Linked DNA regions of Homo sapiens: region 1 is linked to region 2. The links are contacts of gene promoters, found by promoter capture Hi-C in blood cells and fetal thymus (Javierre and others, 2016). All regions are on one chromosome and are shown on one strand. Each heading gives the region's core, a stretch centred on a gene start or on the middle of the fragment in contact. The rest is flanking DNA. Distances are from core to core; before and after follow the strand shown. Region 1 overlaps GLB1 (galactosidase beta 1). Region 2 holds the start of CNOT10-AS1 (CNOT10 antisense RNA 1).

What was found. Contacts are between HindIII fragments. The CHiCAGO score rates a contact against its expected background, and 5 or more counts as called.
Region 1: a contact is called between a fragment that was not itself captured here and the fragment with the promoter of CNOT10-AS1 in region 2, in 1 of 17 cell types (M1 macrophages). The highest score is 5.2, in M1 macrophages.

The regions. Positions count from the first base shown.
Region 1 is chr3:33,026,871-33,032,480 of GRCh38, forward strand. All of the region lies in intron 10 of GLB1 (galactosidase beta 1), which reads right to left. Among named protein-coding and RNA genes, the nearest start is that of GLB1, 67 kb to the right of the region's middle. The HindIII fragment of the contact is 1,589 bases long and covers 2,167-3,755 here.
Region 2 is chr3:32,735,662-32,740,838 of GRCh38, forward strand. It overlaps CNOT10-AS1 (CNOT10 antisense RNA 1), which reads right to left and starts at 1,796. Exons shown (of 2, transcript NR_046718.1): 1 at 1,738-1,796. It overlaps CNOT10 (CCR4-NOT transcription complex subunit 10), which reads left to right. Exons shown (of 19, transcript NM_015442.3): 13 at 1,749-1,829. The HindIII fragment of the contact is 21,232 bases long and covers 1-5,177 here.

The DNA.
Region 1 (5,610 bases), core at 1,711-4,210, 290 kb after region 2:
TCTGAGCTGTTCTATCGCTCAATAAAGCTACTCTTCATCTTGCTCACCCTCCACTTGTCTGTATACCTCATTCTTCCTGGATGTAGGACAAGAACTCAAGATCCGCTGAATGGTGAGGCTAAAAGAGCTGTAACACAAATAGGGCTGAAACATGCCCCTTGCTCACCACGTTGTGGGGGAAAAGGAGAGAAGAGCTATGGTCCTTTGGGGAGCCCAGACCTGGGAGCTACCCGAGCTGGGGCTGTGACTCTCTCTTTGGGGCCCTGTGGTTCCTGGCATCTCCAAGCTTCTGGGCACTATTGCATACCCTGATGCCAGCCAGAGAAGCTGTCTGCAGTGCACCTGGTCCAGCTGCAGCCTTGCAGAGGGCTGGCGCCTGTGCGGGCAACCTGGAGCTGCTCACCCTGCAGCAGCAGCAGCCAGCGTGTCTGACCGTGCACAGTGGCTCAACCCCACGCTTGCTCACACACCCCTTGCCGCTTTATGCCTGACTTGCCCTTGGCAGGTATGGGATCCAGGCAGGAAGCATGAACCGAGTGCAGCCTGCCAGGCCGAGTGGGCAGAACGAACCCAGTGGGCCCGAGCAAAACTCGGGCAAAGGCGCCACAGGCCACAGAGGTTTCCAGCCAGAAAAGTGACACCCGGCTCACGCCTATATTCCCAGCACTTTGGGAGGCCGAGGCAGGCAGATCACTTGAGGTCAGGAGTTCAAGACCAGCCTGGCCAACGTGGTGAAACCCCATCTCTACTAAAAATACAAAATTAGCCAGGCATGGTGGCACATGCCTGTAGTCTCAGCTACTTGGGAGGCTGAGACATGAAAATCGCTTGAACCTGAGAGGCGGAGGTTGCAGTGAGCTGAGATTGCACCACTGCACTCCAGCCTGGGTGACAGAGTGAGATTCTATCTCAAAAAATAAAATATAAAATAAAATAAATAAAAAGAGGAGGACAAAAGACTGTTATAGTGAAAAGCAACAGTCCCCTGCCTCACTTTTCTCTTAGTTCTTTCAGAGGAAGCCATTTAAAAATTATCATTTTTTATTATTTTGTTTTGAGATAGGCTGTTGCCCAGGCTGAAGTACAGTGGCACAATCACGGCTCACTGCAGCCTCAACCTCCTGAGTTCCAGTGATCCTCCTGTCTCAGCCTCCTGAGTAGCTGGGACTATAGGCATGCACCACCATGACCTGCTAATTTTTATTTTTATTTTTGTAGAAATGGGGTCTCACTATGTTGCCTAGCCTGGTCTCGAACTCCTGAACTCAAGCGATCCTCCCACCTTGGCCTACCAAAGTGCTGGAATTACAGGTGTGAGCTACCACGCCCAGCACATTTTAAGATTATTTAATTGTTCCTATTTTTGCTTCTTCTGGTCTCTAAGTAATATATGTGTACTGCTTTTTCTTATCATTGATTTCTTTAACACATGAGAGTACAGCCCAGAAGATAAAGAAAGTTTATCTTCCTTTCTTGCTATTATGGTTATATCACCATTTTCAGCTTCTCTCCTAGTTATCTTTGTACCTTTAAAATAATATCCTTATATCTTTATTTATTAGTTCCATCAATTAGCATATTACCCTATGTCGCCTCTTTTTTCTCGTTTTGTTTTTTTGAGATGGAGTCTCAAACTTCATGTCTATAGCATTATCCTTTTAAATTTTTATTTTTTAAAAGTAACACTCTGAGTGTGGGGTGACTAGGTCAAAGGATATGAGTATAAGACTCTTAAAATAGTGTATACTCACATTTTCATCAAGTATCCATACTTGCTTATGTCATTTACCCAAAAATTTTTTTTTTTTTTTTGATACGGAGTTTCGCTCTTGTTGCCCAGGCTGGAGTGCAATGGCACAATCTCGGCTCACTGCAACCTCCACCTCCCAGGTTCCAGCGATTCTCCTGCCTCAGCCTCCCGAGTAGCTGGGATTACAGGCATGCACCACCACGCCTGGCTAATTTTTTGTATTTTTAGTAGAAACGGGTTTTCTCCATGTTGGTCAGGCTGGTCTCAAACTCCTGACCTCAGGTGATCCGCCCGCCTCGGCCTAAGTGCTGGGATTACAGGCGTGAGCCACTGCGCCTGGTCATCATTTACCCAATTTTCTATGTAGATCTTGATATTCTGATCAGTGATATTAGCTCATTATAATACAGATATTAAGCTTTCATCTGTCTATCCCATTTACTACAATTTTCTAACTTTTCATTTTAATATTGATGATTTTCATTGATACTAGTTTGATTATCATATAGCAAAATCCTCATCTTTACCTTAGCTAATTAATGTTTCAGAAAAGAAATGAACAAATATACCAAAATGCTATACTTCTAAACCATTATTTTTCCATAATAATTTGTGCTTTAATCATACTTTTCAGAGCAATCAGAAATGTTGCTTCTCATACTTAACCGGACACATTCAACACGGGAAGCTGCTCTTTTCCCTGTGGAATCCACTAGATTCAATGGTGACCAGCTTTTCCTTCACCAAGACCTCTAATGTTTTCATACATTCATCCAACAAACTCTTATTAAGAAAGTACTCTGTGTCAGGTCCTATGCTTGGTACTAGACTTATAAACCTATTCCAGAGAGTGAGAAATGTGTATAAATCAGTTATATTAATACACCACAAAAAGTAGTATTTTCACTAGTAAAGACACGGAATCAACCTAAATGACAATCAATGGTAGACTGGATAAAGAAAATGTGGCATATATACACCATGGAATACTATGCAGCCATAAAAAAGAAACAAGATCATGTCCTTTGCAGCAACATGGATGGAGCTGGAGGCCATTATCCTAAGCAAACTAATGCAGGAACAGAAAACCAAATACTGCACATTCTCACTTATAAGTGGGAGCTAAATGATGAGAACACATGGACACAAAGAGGGGAACAGACATCAGGGCCTACTTGAGGGTGGTAGGTAGGAGGAGGCAGAGGATCAAAGAATGACCTATCAGGTACTATGCTTATTACCTGGGTGACAAAATAATCTGTATACCAAACCCCTGTGACACACAGTTAACCTACACAACAATCTTGCACATGTACCCATGAACCTAAAAGTTAAGAAAAAAAAAAAAAAAGAAAAGTAATGTTTAAAAGATTTCTACAACATAAGTGATAGAAAACAAAATGTGACTAACTTGGCTGACAAGTGGGTCAAAGAAGACTCTGCAGATAAGGTAACTGAGGTGTGTCTTCATTTCCAGGTGAATAAAGGCAGAGGGTGCAGAGACCAGGAGGTATAAACAGTGCTGTTTCATTCATGGAATTGTATATAGCTCCAACTTAAGGCCAGGAAGTCACATCTAAGAAGGGAGAATTGAAAGATGAGGCTGGAAAAATATAGGGGCCAAGTCATGGAAGGTATCCTGACCACATCAGTGTTTTAGATACTACACTTGATCTTAGCCAAAAGACTGAGAAGCGATCACATCAGTGTTTTAGAGAAATCACTCTGGGAGAGGGACTAGAAAAGCCAACTCTACAGGAAACGAAGAGACCAGTACTACAAGAGAGCAGGTGACACTTTAAAAGACTATTTAACAGTTGCTAAGTAATATTGCCTTTCTCATCTGTAACCATCAGACATAAAACACTGGTTTTCACCAGCACTATACATCAGCAAGAGACAGCTGTGTCTGCGTATCAAGCCAATGTCATTCCAGTCATAAACAGTGCAGGATGATCAATCAGCCAGTGTAGACAAATCCTGGATCAAATTTCAAACTTCATTAAGCTTTTGAAGTACAGAAAAAATCACTGTGGCTGTTCTCCCATCCCCTCTTCACCACTCAGCCCAGTTACTACCTTTGGGAATCCCAGAATCCACTCCAATTATCAAGGTCCTCACTACCACTTGATTAATTTCTACAGTGACCCATTTCCAAAACATCAGCGGAACTCTTACGTTGATGGAATCCCTATAAAGAACAGAAACAAAACTCTTAAAATGGGTCTTAAGTTGATTTGACAGCATACAAAAATAAACTCACCACTGCCCCTCTCAGGAATCAGTAGGGAAGAGGAGGTCGCTGCCCTATATTTTTATGGTTCATCCTCGAGGTCAAAGTGTTAACCATGTTTGGTTGAGTTTTACCCACACCAAAGCAAATACCTTTTAAAATGCAAATGTCATGAGCTTTGCCATGCCTTGAAGATTCATATGAAGACAACCGCCTGGGGGCCTTCACCACTGAGCACAGGCTTATGCAGCCTGCTGGGAGATTATCCCCAGGAGTCCATGTCAGTGAAATATATTGCCCATCACCACCTAATGTGTTCTTGAAATGGATTACAGAGGAGACATATTCCGCTTTTTGAGTCTTTGATGAAGGAAGGAGGCAGGTAGAGCTATATACAGGGGATATCTACCATCCAATTTCCTTTACTTGATGCAAGCAAATATTTTGAAGATCATTTAACAAATCAGCTAATGGAATGTCTACAAAGTCTCATAAGAAAGAGCCCACTGGCTGGGTGCGGTGGCTTACACCTGTAATCCCAGCACTTTGGGAGGCCAAGGCGGGTGGATCACTTGAGGTCAGGAGTTTGAGACCAGCCTGGCCAACATGGCGAAACTCCGTCTCTACTAAAAATACAAAAATTAGCCACGTGCATTGGTGTGCGCTTGTAATCCCAGCTACTCGGGAGGCTGAGGCAAGAGAATCACTTGAACCAGGGAGGTGGAAGTTGCCTGGGTGACAGAGCAAGGCTCTGTCTCAAAAAAAAAAAAAAAAAAAAAAAAAAAAAATATATATATATATATATATATATATATATATATAATCTCCACTAAATCTTGTAGTTAATTTCTCTTTCAAACCAGAAATATCAAAAAAAGAGGGAAAATATGACATGTTAAGCTGCAATCTATCATAAGCTATTGAATTACATTCATTTCTTTTTTTGTTTTGTTTTGTTTTTGAGACAGAGTTTTGCTCTTGTTACCCAGGCTGGAGTGCAATGGCATGATCTCGGCTCACTGCAACCTCTGCCTCCTGGGTTCAAGCGATTCTCCTGCCTCAGCCACCAGAGTAGCTGGGACTACAGGCATACGCCATCATGCCCACCTAATTTTTTAATTTTTAGTAGAGATGGAGTATCACCATGTTGGCCAGGCTGGTCTCGAACTCCTGACCTCAGGTGATCCACCCACCTCGGCCTCCCAAAGTGCTGGGATTACACACGTGAGCCACTGAGCCTGGCAATTTCTAAAGACTCTGTCTCCTTTGTGGGTTCTCTTACTCTGCCCAGTTGTTAAAGCTTGGGATCCCCTGGGTTTGTCTTTTGCTTGGCCCATTGCCCTCCTCAGTCAGCTCCCCATGTGCAGTCTCAACCTCTCCCTGGACTTCGGCTTCCATTTGCACTGATCGCCCCAGAATCTGCGCCAACCTTTCCGACTTCTCCCTGGAGTGTCTTACTATTAAGTGTTGGTGCTTATGGAGAAATCTGTCTACCTGGATGTTCCTGGAAATATTGAGCTGAATAAGCCCAGAATTGAACTTGCTTCCCCTGTCCCTGCCAGGGCCTCCTCTGCAATCCTCTATCTCAGGTGCCGATCCCAGTACCCACCTAGTTATCTAACTAAGG
Region 2 (5,177 bases), core at 546-3,045:
ATGCCACTGCACTCCATCCAGCCTGGTGACAGAATGAGACTCCATCTCAAAAAAACAGAAAATTTATTAAAATAAACACTTGACTCCTAAAGCTGCTTATTTCTTATTATCCTCTGTCTATCCTCTTAATATACTATAATCACTAACCTCCAGAATATTTTTGTATATTTCTGGTTTTCTAGTATAAATTCAAAATTATGCAAATCTAGGCAGGGTGCTGGAGGAGGCCAAGAGTTCAAGTCTAGTCTGGGCAGCATAGCAAGACCCCATCTCTTCAAAAAAATTAAAAATAAGTAAATAAAAATTATGTGACTATAGAAATTGGGAGAACTTTTGGTAAGGACAAAACACATACCATTATATATAGGGAATTCAGCTTTTTTCTTTCTTTCTTTTCTTTTGTTTTCTTTTTGTTTTGTTTTTTGTTTGTTTGTTTGTTTTTGAGACAGAGTCTCCCTCTGTCACCCAGGCTGGAAAGCAGTGGCACGATCTCAACTCACTGCAACCTCCACCTCACAGGCTCAAGCGATTCTCCTGCCTCAACCCCCTAAATAGCTGGGATTATAGGCCCAGCGCCACTATGCCCGGCTAATTTTTGTATTTTTAGTAGAGATAGGGTTTTGCCATGTTGTCCAGGATGGTCTTGAACTCCTTACCTCAAGTGATCCTCCCTCCTCGGCCTCCCAGAGTGCTGAGATTGCAGGCATGAGCCACTACACCCAGCTGGAAATTCTGCTTTTTATACATGGCATCGTTAAACTTACATCTCCCATCCCAGCATTTTTTCTTGATTATAATAGCAATCAATACATATTTACTATAGAAAATTTGGGCCAGGCATGGTGGCTCACACCTGTAATCCCAGTGCTAAGGGAGACCAAGGCTGAAGGATTGCTTGAAGCTAGGAGTTCGAAGCTAGCCTGTCCAACATAATGAGACCCCATCTCTACAAGAAATAAAAAAATTAGTTGAGTGTGGTGCCAGGCACCATTAGTACCAGCTACTTGGGAGGCTGGTGTAGGAGGATCGCCTGAGCCCAGGAGTTTGAAGCTGCAGTGAGCTATGATCATGCCACACTGCACTCCAGCCTGGGCAACAGTCTCAAAAACCCAGTCTCAAGAAAAGGCAGGGGTTGAGGGGTCAGGGTAATTAGAATAATGAGAAATGCGCGAAAATATTCAGTTATTTCCCTTTTGTAGTAAAGATACTGTTTTCAGTTAGAGATTTTTTAAAGCAGTATTGGAGGGGTGGGGGCAGTGGGGGAAGAAACTAATATACAATATAGCTTTAACATGTTAGTGTTACCAAATTACTAAGTATTTCCATTGTTTAACTCTTTTACACTTTTGTTGTAAAAAGTTACATGGGAGGCCGGGCGAGGTGAGACACCTCTGTAAATCCTAGCACTTTGGGAGGCCAAGGCAGGTGGATCACCTGAGGTCGGGAGTTCGAGACCAGCCTTGCTAACATGGTGAAACCCCGTTTCTACTAAAAATACAAAAAATTAGCTGGGCGTGGTGGTGTGCGCCTGTAATCCCAGCTACTTGGGAGGCTGAGGCGGGAGAATCACTCAAACCTGGGAGGCAGAGGTTGCAGTGAGTTGAGATCGTGCAATTGCACTCCATCCTGAGCGACGAGCAAAACTCTGTCTCAAAAAAAAAGTTGGGAGTAAGGACAGGGAAACAAAATTTTACGTTTAATTATTTATTTGTTGCTCTTCATAATTAAGACTCTTACCTCTATTTTAGCAGTAAAAGCCATGATGGAGATAAATTCATTCCAGCTCCACCTTCTTCTCCATTGAGAAAACAGGAATTAGAAAACTTAAAGTGAGTATCTAAACAAAATTAGCATTGCATCTATTGAAATGAACATATTCATGGCTGGGCACAGTGGCTCATACCTCTAATCCCAGCACTTTGGGAGGCCGAGGCTGGTGGATCACTAGGTCAGGAGTTCGAGACCAGCCTGGCCAAGATAGTGAAACCCTGTCTGTACTAAAAATACAAAAATTAACCGGGCGTGGTGGCAGGCGCCTGTAATCCCAGTTACTTGGGAGGCTGAGGCAGGAGAATTGCTTGAACCCGGGAGGCGGAGGTTGCAGTGAGTGTGCCACTGCACTCTAGCCTGAGCAACTCTGTCTCAAAAAAAAAAAGAACACATTCTTTTTTATCTTGTTGATACTGTTAATATGATGAATTACACTGATCAAATGTTAAACCAATCTTTCAATCTTGTGATAAACCCTACTTGGTCAGAATGTATTTTCTTTTGTATAAATTTTTAGATTTGATTTGTTAATACTTTGTTGGGAATAAGTGCTTCTATATCCGTGAGGAAGATTGGTCCATACTTTTCTTTCCTAGAAATGATTTTGTCAGATTTGGTTTCAGGATTATGCTGACCATATAAATGAGTTGAGAAGTGCTTCATCTTCCTCTGTTTTCTGCAAGAGTCTGTGTAAGATAGGTATTACTCATGGACACAAAGAGGGGAACAACGGGCGCTAAGGCCTCCTGGAGGGTGGAGGGTGGTAGAGGATCAGAAAAAATAACTATTGGGTACTAGGCTTAGTACCTGGGTGACAAAATAATCTGTACAACAAACCCCCATGACACAAGTTTACCATATAACAAACCTGCACATGTAGCCCTGAACTAATAAAAAGGACAGGTATTACTTCTTCCTTAAGTATTTGATAGAATGCACCAGTGAAACCATCTAGCCTAGGATTTTCTTTGCAGGAAGATTTTTGATAATGAATTCAACTTGTTCAACAACACTTTTTTCAGATTTTATATTTCTTTTTTTTTTTTTTTGAGATGGATTCTCGCTCTGTCTCCCAGGCTGGAGTGCAGTGGCGCGATCTCGGCTCACTGCAAGCTCCGCCTCCTGGGTTCACACCATTCTCCTGCCTCAACCTCCCGAGTAGCTGGGACTACAGGCGCCTGCCACCACACAGGGCTAATTTTTTGTATTTTTAGTAGAGACAGGGTTTCACCGTGTTAGCCAGGATGGTCTCGATCTCCTGACGTCGTGATCCACCCACCTCGGCCTCCCAAAGTGCTGGGTTTACAGGCGTGAGCCACAGCATCCGGCCTGTATTTCATCTTATCTCAGTTTGGTTAAGTTTTATTTTTCAAGGAATTTTCTAAGTTGTCAAATTTATTGGCATAACATTGTTCATAATATTTTTTTTACCTTTTTAATGTCTGTAGAATCTGCAGTTATACCTCTATTTTCTTTCTTTTTTTTTTTTTTGAGTTGGAGTTTTACTCTCTGTCCCAGGGTGGAGTGCAGTGGTATGATCTCGGCTCACTGCAACCTCTGCCTACCAGTTTCAGGCGATTCTCCTGCCTCAGCTTCCTAAGAAGCTGGGATTACAGGTGCCTGCTAGCACGCCTGGCTAAATTTTTGTGTTTTTAGTAGAGACGGGGTTTTACCATGTTAGCCAGGCTGGTCTCGAACTCCTGACCTCAGGTGATCCACCCGCCTCAGCCTCCCAAAGTTTTGGGATTACAGGCATGAGCCACTGCGCCCGGCCAGTTTTCATTTGTGATATTTGTGGGATCTCTTGCTTTCTCTCCTTTCTTCCCTAAGCAATCCTGCTAGCAATTTACATATTGGATTGATGTTTTCAGAGAATAGACTTCTACTTCATTTTCTGTTTTCTATTTCGTTTCTGCTCTTTATTTTATTCTTCTACTAACTCTGGTTTATTTTGCTCTTTTTTTAACTTCTTATGCTGGTCACTGATTTTTAGATAAAGGTCCTTTTCTACACAGTTCCCTTTAAGCCTGCTGTGACTTCCTTCCACAAACAGTTATGTTTTATTTGTTTATTTCACTCCATAGTGTCTTTTTTTTCAAAATTAAACTTCATTTAGAGACGATTGTAGATTCACATAATAGTCTAAAAAGTAATACAGATACCTGGGCAACATGGTGAGACCCTGTCTCTAAAAAAATCAAAAAATTAGGCCAGGTGCAGTGGCTCATGCCTGTGATCCCAGCACATTGGTGGGCTGCAGAGGCAGGCAGATCAGCTGAGGTCAGGAGTTCGAGATCAGCCTAGCCAACATGGTGAAACCCCATCTCTCCTAAAAATACAAAAGTTGGCCAGGTGTGGTGGCGGGTGCCTGTAATTCCAGCTACTTGGGAGGCTGAGGCTGGAGAATCACTTGAGCCCAGGAGGCAGAAGTTGCAGTAAGCCAAGACCGCGCCGTTGCACTCCAGCCTGGGCAACAAGAGTGAAACTCCGTCTCGAAAGAAAAAAAGAAAAAAAATTATCTGGGCGTGATGTTGCATGCCTGTGGTTCCAGGTAGCTGGCAGGCTGAGGTGGGAGGATCACTTTAAGCCCTGGAGGTCATGGCTGCAGTAAGCTGTGATTGTACCATCAAACTCCAGCAAGGATGACAGATCGAGGCTCTGTCTCTAAAAATAAAAAATAATACAGAGACCTCATCTACCCTCTACCCAGTTTTCTCAAAGGCAACTTCTTACAGAACTTTAGTACATGCTGGGTGCGGTGGCTCATGCCTGTAATCCCAGCCCTTTGGGAGGCCGAGGTGGGCGGATCACGAGGTCAGGAGTTCAAGACTAGCCTGACCAATATGGTGAAACCCCATCTCTACTAAAAATACAAAAATTAGCTGAGTGTGGTGGCGTGTGCCTGTAGTCCCAGCTATTCGAGAGGCTGAAGCAGGGGAATCGCTTCAACCGGGGAGGCGGAGGGAGGTTGCAGTGAGCCAAGATCGTGCTATTGCCTAGACAACAGACTCTGTCTCAAAACAAAAAAAGAACTTTAGTACAATATCACAGTCAAGATATTGACATTGATACAGTAAAGATACAGAACTTTTTTTGTTTTACAATATTTTCATTACATTCAATTTCTTAAAATTTTTTTAAAATTTTGTGGCTGGGCGCGGTGGCTCATGCCTGCAATCCCAGCACTTTGGGAGGCCGAGGCGGGTGGATCACAAGGTCAGGAGATCGAGACCATCCTAGCTAACACGGTGAAACCCTGTCTCTATTAAAAATACAAAAAATTAGCCGGGCGTGGTGGCGGGCGCCTGTAGTCCCAGCTACGCGGGAGGCTGAGCCAGGAGAATGGCGTGAACCTGGGAGACGGAGCTTGCAATAAGCCGAGATCGCACCACTGCACTCCAGCCTGG